Linked DNA regions of Homo sapiens: region 1 is linked to region 2. Evidence: promoter capture Hi-C in 16 types of primary human blood cells and fetal thymus (Javierre and others, 2016). All regions are on one chromosome and are shown on one strand. The core of a region is centred on a gene start or on the middle of the fragment in contact, and the rest is flanking DNA. Distances in the headings are between cores, read along the strand shown.

Region 1 (5,961 bases), core at 345-2,844, 260 kb before region 2:
TTAAATATTAGATGATAAAATATTGGGGAACTGTTAGAGAAAAACTATTGAGGAAAATTTTTGTTAAAATGCTAGGTGAAAAACTATTGGGGAGCAAAACCGTGGGTTACAGGCTGACCCACCATTTACTTTTTAATTATGAGAGAGAAACCTGACAGTTACTGCCGTTACCAAACCATGAATCTTATTGATGATGGGACAGACTAACATCACGTGCCCCCAGTGTGATGCATTGAAAAGGGCATGTCACCTATATATTACTCTGCTGAAATAATTTAACCCAATTCTAATCATGATTAATCATTTTTGGCAAGAACACTGTAGGTAAGGAAACAATTAGACAAATTCAAATTGAGGGATATGTTATAAAACAGTTGGACTCTTAAAAAATACCAACAATGTGGAAGACAAAAAAGCTGAAGATACATGAAACTCAATGCTGTGTGTGGATCTTGATTGGTTCCTGGTGTGGGAGAAGAAAGCCATAAAGGACATTATTGGGACAATCAGGAAAATCTGAATGTATAGCCTCTATATTGTATAATAGTAATTGATGATAAATTTCCTGAGTTTGTGTAAGCTGATCTATTTAGGGATGAAGTGTTATGATGCGTATAAGTAATTCTTAAGGAATTCAGTGAAAATAAATTTAGAAAACCTCAGAAAGATATTATATTCATCATAGAAGCAGGAAGGTAGTGAAAAAATGTGGGATTGAGTTCTGTTTGACAGCAAATCAGGGAAATCGAGAAACACTGGTTGGAATTTAGAAAGAATTGGCAGGGAAAAACCAAGAAGAAGGCCTGTCCTGGCAGCCTGTTGTGGGGGCAGGGGGGTAGATGACCCAAAAGGAAGCTCAGGACTAAAATGTTGCTTTTGCCATTTATATTGTAGGAAGTCCCTAACTTACTCATTAGTATTCTTTAGTTGCTGTTGTTGTTTTTTTTTTTTTTTTTTTTTTTTTTTTTTTGAGACAGAATTTTGCTCTGTTGCCCAGGCTGGAGTGTGGTGGTGCCATCTCAGCTTACTGCAACCTCTGCCTCCCAGGTTCAAGCAATTCTCCTGCCTCGGCCTCCAGAGTAGCTGGACTACAGGCGCACACCACCACGCCTGGCTAATTTTTGTATCTTTAGTAGAGATGGGGTTTCACCATGTTGGCCAGGCTGGTCTCAAACTCCTGACCTCAGGTGGTCCACCTGCCTCAGCCTCCCAAAGTGCTGGGATTACAGGCGTGAGCCACCAAGCCTGGCCAGTATTCTTATTTCTGCCCTCACCATCCCTTACTTTTGAAGTCCCAGACTAAGTCCCCAGGATCAGTTACTAGAAGCTTATAGATGAGATAACAGCAGAAAGGGAAGGTGGATTTCTTGTATCTTAGTAAGAAGTTTGATGCATTTTCCTTGGGAATATTGTTTTTTATGTGATGATTAGTTTCTGTACGACCAAAATGCCATAAGCACAGTTAATTTATGAGAATAATCTCTATTAGTCTGTAGATCATATATCCTCAATAGGGGTGAAATTTTGTTTGAGGAAATTATAAAATCTTAGATTACAGTGGTTTGTGGTCTTTCAAAATTTAATAGCTATGCATTGTATCTGTGTTTTTAAAATTTCACGGGGAGGACGATTAGGAAAAAAAATGTCTGAAAAGACTGCTTAGGTAGGGCAATAAGGTCTGTATAGCTCTAGACCAATGTAAATGCAAAAAGACAGAGCTTCTCTATCCATAGCTTATTATCTCTATATTCAGAGACCCTTGAAATGTGCATACAGTTTTTTTAATAATAAGAAAAATGCTGTTTGTGTTATTTGCATAATGACAGGCCATTTTGGATATTCCATATTGTAGGGAAGCTTGGAAAGCACTTGGTGATTCAAGCCCCAGCCAAGCAATGCAGGAATATATCGCAGTAGTTAAAAAACTAGATCCAGGTTGGAATCCTCAGGTAAGACTTAATGATTATAAATAATACTTTCCAAAAACTTATGATCCTTCTCTGAAATAAATGTCTAAAACTAAACTTAGTTTTAAGTAACATGCTTAAAGTTTTACTTTCTTGAAATATTTTAAAGTTATTGTAATATTTATCTAATAAAATAATTGCTGGCCAGGTGTGGTGGCTCATACCTGTAATCCCAGCACTCTGGGAGGCCAAGCCAGGTGGTTCACCTGAGGTAAGAGTTCAAGACCGGCCTGGCCAGCATGGTGAAATCTCATCTCTACTAAAAATACAAAAATTAGCTGGACGTGGTGGTACACACCTGTAATCCCAGCTACTCAGGAAGCTGAGGCAGGGGAATCAATTGAACCTGGGAGGCTGAGGCTGCAGTGAGCCAAAATCAGGCCACTGCACTCCAGCCTGGGTGACAGTGTGAGACTCCATCTCAGAAAAATGAAAAAAATTAATAATAATTACTTAAATAGTAATATAACCAGCTACTGATGCTGAGAACTTCTCTGAGTTGCAGAGTTTTTGAAAGCAGAAAAATTTGAATTACATAAGAATTGGAAAGAGTTTAACTTGAGATTATCATGCTGGAAAAAAGGTTACTCTTGGATTTCGTTTTTATGATCACTTTCTATGCAAGGGCAAAATGCTTATTAGGGATAAAAGATGAATAAGACATGATTTCTGCCATTATGTAGTTTAAAGTGTAATAGAGAAGATAAAACATATCAAAATATATATCTTTAATAGTATAAAACAATAATAATGTAAATGCTAGGGAATCCAGCAGGAAAAGGGATTGCTTTGGACTTTGGAAGCATTGGATATTGTTCACTTAAATATACCCTGTTTTTCTCATATACTTATTGGAGAACATCTAGAAAGAATTTAATAAAGGTGAGGTTACTATTTAAGAATATTGTTAAATGATTAACAGGTATTTCAGTGAGATAGAGGTTGCATTGTACCATGTAAAAAATGCAAATTGAATTTTTTTCAATAAAAATATTAAGGCCAAACATTTTAGCAGTTAATGAATTAAACAATTTTCAGTGTTTTTGTAATAATTACATAATTTCATGTGTACATAGTTGTTACTGGTATGAAGGAATTTGTTCCATTAATCATGGAATCTTAAAAATCTCAGACTTGTTAGGAACTTTAAAAGATTATATATTATGACATATTAAAAATGTATCTTAAGAGTACAAAGTGGGAGTGATAACCAACTTTGGATATCTTTAATGATATGACTGCCTTTTAGAAGTCATTGAAAAATGTCCTTTTTTTTTTTTTTTTTTTTTATATGAGACAGAGTCTCACTCTATCACTCAGACTGGAGCACAGTAGTAGGATCTTGGCTCAACGTAACCTCCACCTCCCAGGTTCAAGTGATTCTCCCACTTCAGCCTCTGGGACTATAGGTGCACACCACTACACCTGGCTAATTTTTAAATTTTTTTTCTTTTTTTTTTTTTTTGAGACAGAGTCTCACTCTGTCGCCCAGGCTGGAGTGCAGTGGCGCAATCTCGGCTCACTGTAAGCTCTGCCTCCTGGGTTCCCGCCATTCTCCTGCCTCAGCCGCCTGAGTAGCTGGGACTACAGGCGTCCACCACCACACCCGGTTAATTTTTTTATTTTTATTTTTATCTTTAGTAGAGACGGGGTTTCACCGTGTTAGCCAAGTTGGTCTCGATCTCCTGACCTCGTGATCTGCCCGCCTCGGCCTCCCAAAGTGCTGGGATTACAGGGGTGAGCCACTGCGCCTGGCCTCTTTTTTTTTTTTGTAGAGATAGGGTTTTGCCATGTTGGCCAGGCTGATCTTGAACTCCTGATCTCATGTGATCCACCCGCTTCGGCCTCCCAAAGTGCTGGGATTATAGGCATGAGAAATTTCCTTATGTTTCTGATGTGCATGAGTCTTCATTTTCAGAAATTTTCTATTTTATTATCTTTTATAAGACACCAAATATGCATACAAATATGTTTCTCAAGGTTCTGAGGGCTTAAAATCTGAAAATCAGTGCTCAAAACAGGTGCCCCCTGAGCTGAACTCAGCCTGAACAACTGTTGCACAATGTTTAGAAATGAAACAAAACTTGAATGTGAGTGCCTTTAGGCAGAGTATTTTTCAGGTCCAGTCACTGTGTTCTCATCCTTCCCTGTTGATTTATACTACACTATTGGTGATGCTTGGCCTATGAAGGCATTTTAGTTTATAAATTCTGATAAAAGACAGAATTTATGATTTCTTACCTTCAGTACTTTAGTAAAATTTTGTTAACTATTACTCTTAAAATGCTTGCAGGCCAAGCACAGTGGCTCACGCCTGTAATCCCAACACTTTGGGAGGCTGAGGCGGGTGGATCACCTGAGGTCAGGAGTTCGAGTCCAGCCTGACCAACATGGTGAAATCCCGTCTCTACTAAAAAAATGCAAAAATTAGCCAGCAATGGTGGCAAGTGCCTGTAGTCCCAGCTATGCGGGAGCCTGAGGCAGGAGAATCGCTTGAACCCGGGAGGCAGAGGTTGCAGTGAGCCGAGGTTGTGCCATTGCACTCCAGCCTGGGCGACAGAGCAAGACTCCATCTCAAAAAAAAAAACGACTTGCAGATTCCAAACAGGTGTTGAGGATGGTTTTTAAAAATGTCTAAATCTAACCTATTGAACATACACTTGAGTAAACCAAGCAGAACCAAAGGCACTTTCATATTCTTTAATTAATTATTTAATACATTAAATAATAAACTTTAAAAAATTAATATATTTAATACATTAAATAACATTAAAAGAATATATAACATACTATTCTAAAAGTATTTTAACATTGGAATCCAGTTGTAAGGAGGAATTTTATTTTTTATTTACATTTTAGTTTTTAGTTTAAACACTGAGCTGGTCCCCTTTGACTCATAGCTTTTTTTTTTGTCTTTACTTTTAAACTGTTAGGAGGCAGATCATAACCTCCATCTCAGAAGAGATTTGGCATTTAGTTCATTATCTTTTAGGTTAAATAATAATTTTCTTTTGATATTCTAAAAAATAAAATAAAATAAGAACAACACTCATTCTGAATGTGCTGAGTTTTTTTTTATTTTTTTGAGATGGAGTCTCTCTCTGTCACCCAGGCTGGAGTGCAGTGGCACAATCTCAGCTTACTGCACCCTCCGCCTCCCAGGTTCAAACAATTCTTCTGCCTCAGCCTCCTGAATAGCTAGCATGAGCCACTGCACCTGGCCTGAATGTGCTGAGTTCTTTACATGTATTGTCTTTTGATATCTTCACAAAAAGTCTTCACAGTTAGAAACTACTATAATCTGCATTTCAAAAACGAGGAAATTCAGACACAGACAGATTTAGTAACTTGCCTAAAATTAGCCAGCTAAGGCCAGGTGTGGTGGCTCACTCCTGTAATTCCTATAATTTGGGAGGCTGAGGCAGGAGGATCACTTGAGGCCAGGAGTTTGAGAGCAGCCTGGGCAACAAAGCAAGACCCCATCTCTATTTTAAAAAAAGAACAAAAAAATTAGCCAGGCATGGTGGTGTGCCCTGTAGTCTCAGCTACCTGGGAGACTGAGGTGGGAGAATCCATTGAACGTAGGAGTTCAGGGTTGCAGTCAGCTATGATTGCACCACTGCACTCCAGTCTGGGTGACAGAGTGAGACCCCATCTCAAAAAAAAAAAGCCAACTAACAAAAGATGGCACTGGATTTAGACCTATATTTATATGAGTCCAGAGCCCTGTTGTTAACCACTCTGCTATCTGTTCTACAGCTGATATTGGAAATATATCTATAAGGTATAAACTTAAGTGTATGTATACGTGTAAAAAATTCAAGGCAGCTATTTTTGTCAAAGCTCTGTGGTACCTTGAGGTATAAAACAATGCTTTAAAATTCATCTTTAAAAATAACTATGTTTTCTGTTATGTGTTTCATCTTATCTCAAGAATATGTTGTTCAATGTCTACTATAATTAAGGCAATTATTTTGCCTTTGTTTTGGGGGGA
Region 2 (5,497 bases), core at 1,639-4,138:
CCAAATAAGCAAAGGAATAGTCCAGCTGCCGCCGAAATAAGCTGGATTTAAATCACTTCTTCTAAAATGCCCCTAGAGGGGAGGGCACTAGAGGCACCGAGCTTGGGGACACCTAGACCTGCGTCCCCAAGTGCTCCATTCGTGGTGACTCCATGTGATGAAGAGGCAAACATGTCTGTGTTGAGAGGGAAACCCTTCTAGTTGGCGACTGGAGGGACCCCTGTGGGAGAGCGTTTCTTTTGTCTCCCCTCCTCTAGGGTTTAAGAGCCTACTGTCCCGGAAGGCCCAAGGGTGTGCCCCACAACCCCTCGAGCTTCCCCCCTTCTTAGGCCACTGGGCCCAGTCCCAAGAAAACTAATAGTTGTGTATATGTGGGTGATGGGGACCTATCCCGCGGTCCCAGCACCAACAGCCTAACAGCCAGAGGCCAGATGTGCTGCAAGGGAGGCTACAATCCATTCACATTCCAAGAGGAAATAAAAGCTGGATCCAGAAGTCTTCAGGGAGTGGGCCCCTCAATTTTGGCCGATGCCTCCTCCAACCAAGGTCACGAAACTCGGACAAAGGGAGGACTGACCACCCCCTCTAGATTAGACATTGCCTCCCTGGGCCACCCTGGGGGGGTGGGTGTGGAAGTTCCTTTGTACACCTCAAGTTTTCCACAGTGTGAACCTAGACTCAGCCTTGGCAAACTGTAGCTCTGAAGGTGAGTTCTGGGCATTTTAGCAAAGCGACTCCCTGACGTCGAACATCAAAGTTGTCTCTGAACAGGGAAGGCAAAAAGTGAGACAATCAGAGTGTCACTCATCACAAGAAAGGCCGTCAGAGCAGAGACCATCGTCCTTCATTGGGGTCCCAACAGACAGGTCACCTACGGACCACAGCCATGAAAGCACAGACGTACTGGGTACCAAGGACACTAGTAACACACACACACCCTTCCCCCACTCATGCAGTCTCCTCACTCGCGCAGAGCTACAAGCAGCTTAAGGACTCGGTGCACCTTTGCAGGGTTTCTGTTTCCGTCTTTGCAGGGGCTGAGAACCCACTCTGTCCCTGCCTGTGTGCGGGGTGTGGGGCGTAGTGAATCTCCAATGCCTTCTATGAAAACATCTTAGCGGTAAACTCCCCAAGGCTCAACACAGACGTGGAACTGATTGCCGGCAGTTGACACGAAAACACTCAAAGAATAACTGTAGAATACAGCCAAGAAACAATCTAAATAGGCTTGGATGAAGCTATTCTTTTCTAGTCCCTTCTCAAAAACTTCCCAGGGAAGCCTACGGTACGCCTGCCCTCCGAAGGATCGCCGGACAGAAACCCTGCCATGGAAACCCGAGGCGCAGGAGGGCGCGCTCGTGCGCCCTAGTTTGTAGGTAGTCACCATCCCTGGATGAGCCGGCCCTTACTTAAAGTAAACCCCGAAGATGTAGCTACCGCACCACTAAAGAAGTCGCAGGCGGAAGTACAACCCCTTGGCAAGCGGAGCGAGGAACTCCTTGGTCTCTCCAGGGTGCCCGGGGCGCCCTGCTGAGCGTGCAAGCCACAGGGGCAGGACTCTCCCGGCGCTTGTCGCGCGCGCGCGCGCGCGCGCGCGACGACTGGGCACCTGTTCTGGCCTCTGCACAGATTCCCTCTCGGGGACTCTCGCTCAGGAGTGAAGCACAGAGACGGATTCCCTTCGGGAAAATCTCTGCGCGCGCACACCCATACACACAGAGAGAGACTTGGGGATAAACACGCCGCGAGCTCCGGCTGTCTCGCTAATTTCGGGCGCGGGAAGAAAGCGGGCGGGCAGGCTAGCAAAGCTCCCACACACCCCCGTCTCTACCCCTCCAAACCCGAGCCACCCTGAGCACCTGCCCTCGCGTGCGCAAAGGCTGAACCCGGAATTCACAACTTGCGGTCGCTTCTCCCTCCCCTGCATTCCTAGGCTAGCTGGAATGCGCGAGCAGATTCCCTCACAAGGAGCAGTCAGTTTCCCGCGGCGCACGCGGCGGGCGCCGCGGGCAGTAGCGGCTGGGGACTCACCCGGCACGCACGCCCGGGGCGCGGGCCGCAGGGACTAAGAGTGTGGCCGGGGCTTCTCCGCCGCCAGCCCCAGGGGCGAGAGACGCGCTCTCCAACTTCCCGCCAGCTGGGGTGAAGTTGCACTAGCGGTCCTGCAAGCGCTGACCGTCACGCCGGCGAAAGAAGATTTGTGGGGACCACCCTCGCCCTCAGGCCTGGCCTACAGCTCGTACCCCTGGGTGTCCCCAAACAGCACTCTCCCCAGCGTTCCAAGAAAAGCCTTGGGCTGGAGATGCGGGGTTCGGTACTCGGCTCGCCTCAAGCATGATCCAGGAGGCGTTCACATTCGGCCCCAAACAGCCAAGAGCCTGGCCCCCTCAAACGCACTCTGGCTGGTGCCCCTGCCCTGTGACCGCCTCTGCGCCCCGGCCGCCAGCCCCTCCCGGCCCCTGAGCGGCGTCCGGCCCGCCCCGCAGCGGCTGAGGCTGCTAGCTGTCTTGTTAGAATTAAATCAGCGAGAAAGGGGGGTGTCTTACGTTGCATCGGCACACCTAGCATCTCCGGGAGCCCCTTGACAGCCCCTTCCGCGGGGACAGTCGCACTCTGCATCATCTCGGAGCGAAAGCCAGCGAGTCGCAGTCTACGGAGATCTCTCGCTCTCTCGCTCTAGCTCGATTCAGAAATTTCAAAATAATAATTAAAACCCCAAGCAGGCCGCTGGAGTCACGGTGGAAGCCGGGCCCTCCGCTTCTCAGGGAGGACTCCACAGGCTGGCCGGCCCCCTCCCCCCGCCAGTCCCCAGTCTGTTTCCAGTCCCTTTGATCTCGCTCTCCGGGGTTGGTGCACATCCCAGGTTGAGACGCTGTTGCTGCAGCTCTGGCTTTTTTCCTCTTCCCTCCCCCGCCCGCTCCTTCCCCCTCCCCCTCCACCCTTCGCGTGCCGGCCGCCCGGGAGGCCGCGGTCACCCGGGCGTTTTGATTCATTCACACTGCAGGAGCGGCCGTGACGTCGCTTTCCGCAGGGAGGCCCGCCCTTCGGCACATCCCCCAACCCGGCGGCGGGCAGCCGACCCCGGAGGGAGTGGGGGTCCCGGCGCCCCGAGTGAGGCCGGCGGGGCGGAGGGGGGCGGGGCGGCAGGGAGCGGGGCGGGGCCTCGCAAGCCGGCACCCCCCCCCCCTCCCCGCCTCCGCCTCCGCCTCCGCCCAGCCGTGGCGGGCTCGCGCCCTGGGTATAAATTCTGCTGATGGCCTGCCGCGGCAGCAGGTGGTCGGAGACGGCGGCGCCCTGGGTTTGCGGGTCTTCGTGGGTTCCAAGCCCGCGCGGCTCGTGTCCTCCTCACTCCTCCGTTCGGACCCAGGGGCGGGGCGGAGCCGAGCCGGGGCCGAGCGGGGCAGGCGGTCCGGAGGCCGGGGACGGGGCTGCGTCGCTGTGTCTTCGCCTTGCGCGCTCTCGGTCCCCGGCTTCGCTCCGCCGGACGGAGCGCGCTCCGTAACCGATGACTCCATCTATCTTCCTCCTCCTCTTTCCCCTGGCCAATTCCTTTCCTGCCGGCACTTCCCAGCCCCTGCTCTCTCTCCCCCGCGTCTGGCTGAGGCTGGGCCAAGGGACAGCCCGTACTCGGCCCGGAACGCGCGAGTCACGCGGCGGGCGGCGCCGGCCCGGGCTGGGGAAGGGGACCAGGGGCTGTGCGCGGAGGTGGCGGGACGCAGGCCCCCCGCGCGCGTCCCCGCAGACCGCGGCCTGCAGCCGGAGTCCGCACTTGCCTCCAGTTCCGCAGGGTAGGGGGCCCAAACCTCCCCGCGGCGGGGCCTCCCCGGCCGCCCTGCCACCAGTCGTCCAGCTCGGCCCTGTCTTAGGTCCCTAGAGCCCGCTCTGCCTCTCCGGCTGCCACCGCGGGTGCTTTGAACCATCCGCGACCTCGTGCGTGCAGGGCGGCAGTGAGCACACGGACGCCGGGGTTAACCAGCGAAAGGGCTTGCCATGCTTACTGTATTTACGAGATGCATGGACAGGTAGAGAAACGCTTAAAACAAATTCTCCTCAACGCGAGTTTCTGGCAGAAATACAACAGAAGGCCCAACGCTGGGACGAGGTCTCCTCTGACGCTCCATCAGGCGCTCGACGCCTCCGGGCTGCAGGCGCGGGAAGCCCACCCCGTCTGCCCCAAGACCCAGCCGCTCTCCTGCCCCCAGCCCCCACGGCATTTCCTTCCAGAAATGCAGACATACGTGTCCTTCCAGCCTAGTGGGGTTCAGCTTAGGCGGGAAGGGGGACTGTGTGCCCTCCCCAGCCTTCCAGAACCTTCCCTGCTGTTTCCCCTGGTGTCATCTCCAAACAAGGGACACCTGCTCACCTTTAAGGGAGGAGCATGGGGCGGGGGAGAATGGCCTGGTCGTCTGCGCTGCTTAGAATTTGTCTCCAATGAGGTCACAGTGACTTTTGTGTGTCCTGGTACTGGGTTGGCATCATCTCTTCCCTTGTTTACCTGCGAGGTGACTCCGCGCGCGAGACAATATACACAAGAAGAAAAAAGCAAAAGAACCCAGTGACATTTTTAGTGTTTACCAAAATGTGTTCTATAGAAATATAACTAGTAAGCAAACACGGGGAAACGCCAGCCTCATTTGCAGTGAAAAACACGCAAGACAAAACAACACGTGCACAGCTTTTTCTGTTTGTGAGATGCCCGACGCGCGGGAGGGGCATCCTAGAGTTCAGGACTGGCGAAAGGGGCTTGGACACTCACCAATACTGCTGGGTGCTTATAAACTCTTAACATCCGTTTGGAAAGAAATTTGGCAATATGTATCAAACTCATAAATTTTTCATACCCTTTAGTTTATGTAGTACTTTTGAATGTCTGTTCCACGGAAATAATCTAGAATTTTTTATAAAAGTTTCATGCGTGAAAATGTTTATTACAGTATTATGTTTTGGAGAAAAATAACCTAAATAGCCAACAAAAGAAAAGTGGCTTAGGGAAGTAGATTAAATTGTTTGGTAGTATGTTATGGAATCATGGAAACCAATTATGAAACCCAATAACATGGGGATGCTTGTGAAATACTATTTTTTTTAAAAGCACAATGCAATAGCATAGGATTATAAATATGTAAAAATCTTAGTCAAATGTAAGGGCAATGATAATACCCATTGTTGGTTAGGCTGTGGGGAAATTAGAAAACAATTTCCTAGTGGGGATTGCAAAGAGGGGAAATGTCTTCTCAGGACGTTTTGGCTACAAATGTGATGCATTTGACCCAATCTCTATAGAAATTTATCCAAAGAAAATAATCAAGAATGTTTGTGAAGATGTAGTTACAAGGATGTTTATAAGGTTTTTAAAAGGGAAAACCTAAATATCCAACAATAGGGGATAGTAAATAAGTTACAGTAAATTATTAAGTAAAATGGAATGTTATGAAGTCTTAGAAATAATACAACAGAAGAATATTTAATGTAGAAAAGGGTTTGAGATTTATTAGGA

What was found. Contacts are between HindIII fragments. The CHiCAGO score rates a contact against its expected background, and 5 or more counts as called.
Region 1: a fragment that was not itself captured here is called in contact with the fragment with the promoter of LHX4 in region 2 in 6 of 17 cell types (M1 macrophages, erythroblasts, endothelial precursors and 3 more); the score reaches 8.7 in M1 macrophages.

The regions. Positions count from the first base shown.
Region 1 is chr1:180,488,257-180,494,217 of GRCh38, reverse strand. ACBD6 (acyl-CoA binding domain containing 6) reads left to right here. Exons shown (of 8, transcript NM_032360.4): 3 at 1,853-1,949. Among named protein-coding and RNA genes, the nearest start is that of ACBD6, 11 kb to the left of the region's middle. The HindIII fragment of the contact is 530 bases long and covers 1,330-1,859 here.
Region 2 is chr1:180,227,655-180,233,151 of GRCh38, reverse strand. It overlaps LHX4 (LIM homeobox 4), which reads right to left and starts at 2,888. Exons shown (of 6, transcript NM_033343.4): 1 at 2,547-2,888. The coding sequence starts at 2,622. RefSeq lists a silencer at 3,318-3,447. The HindIII fragment of the contact is 8,200 bases long and covers 1-5,497 here.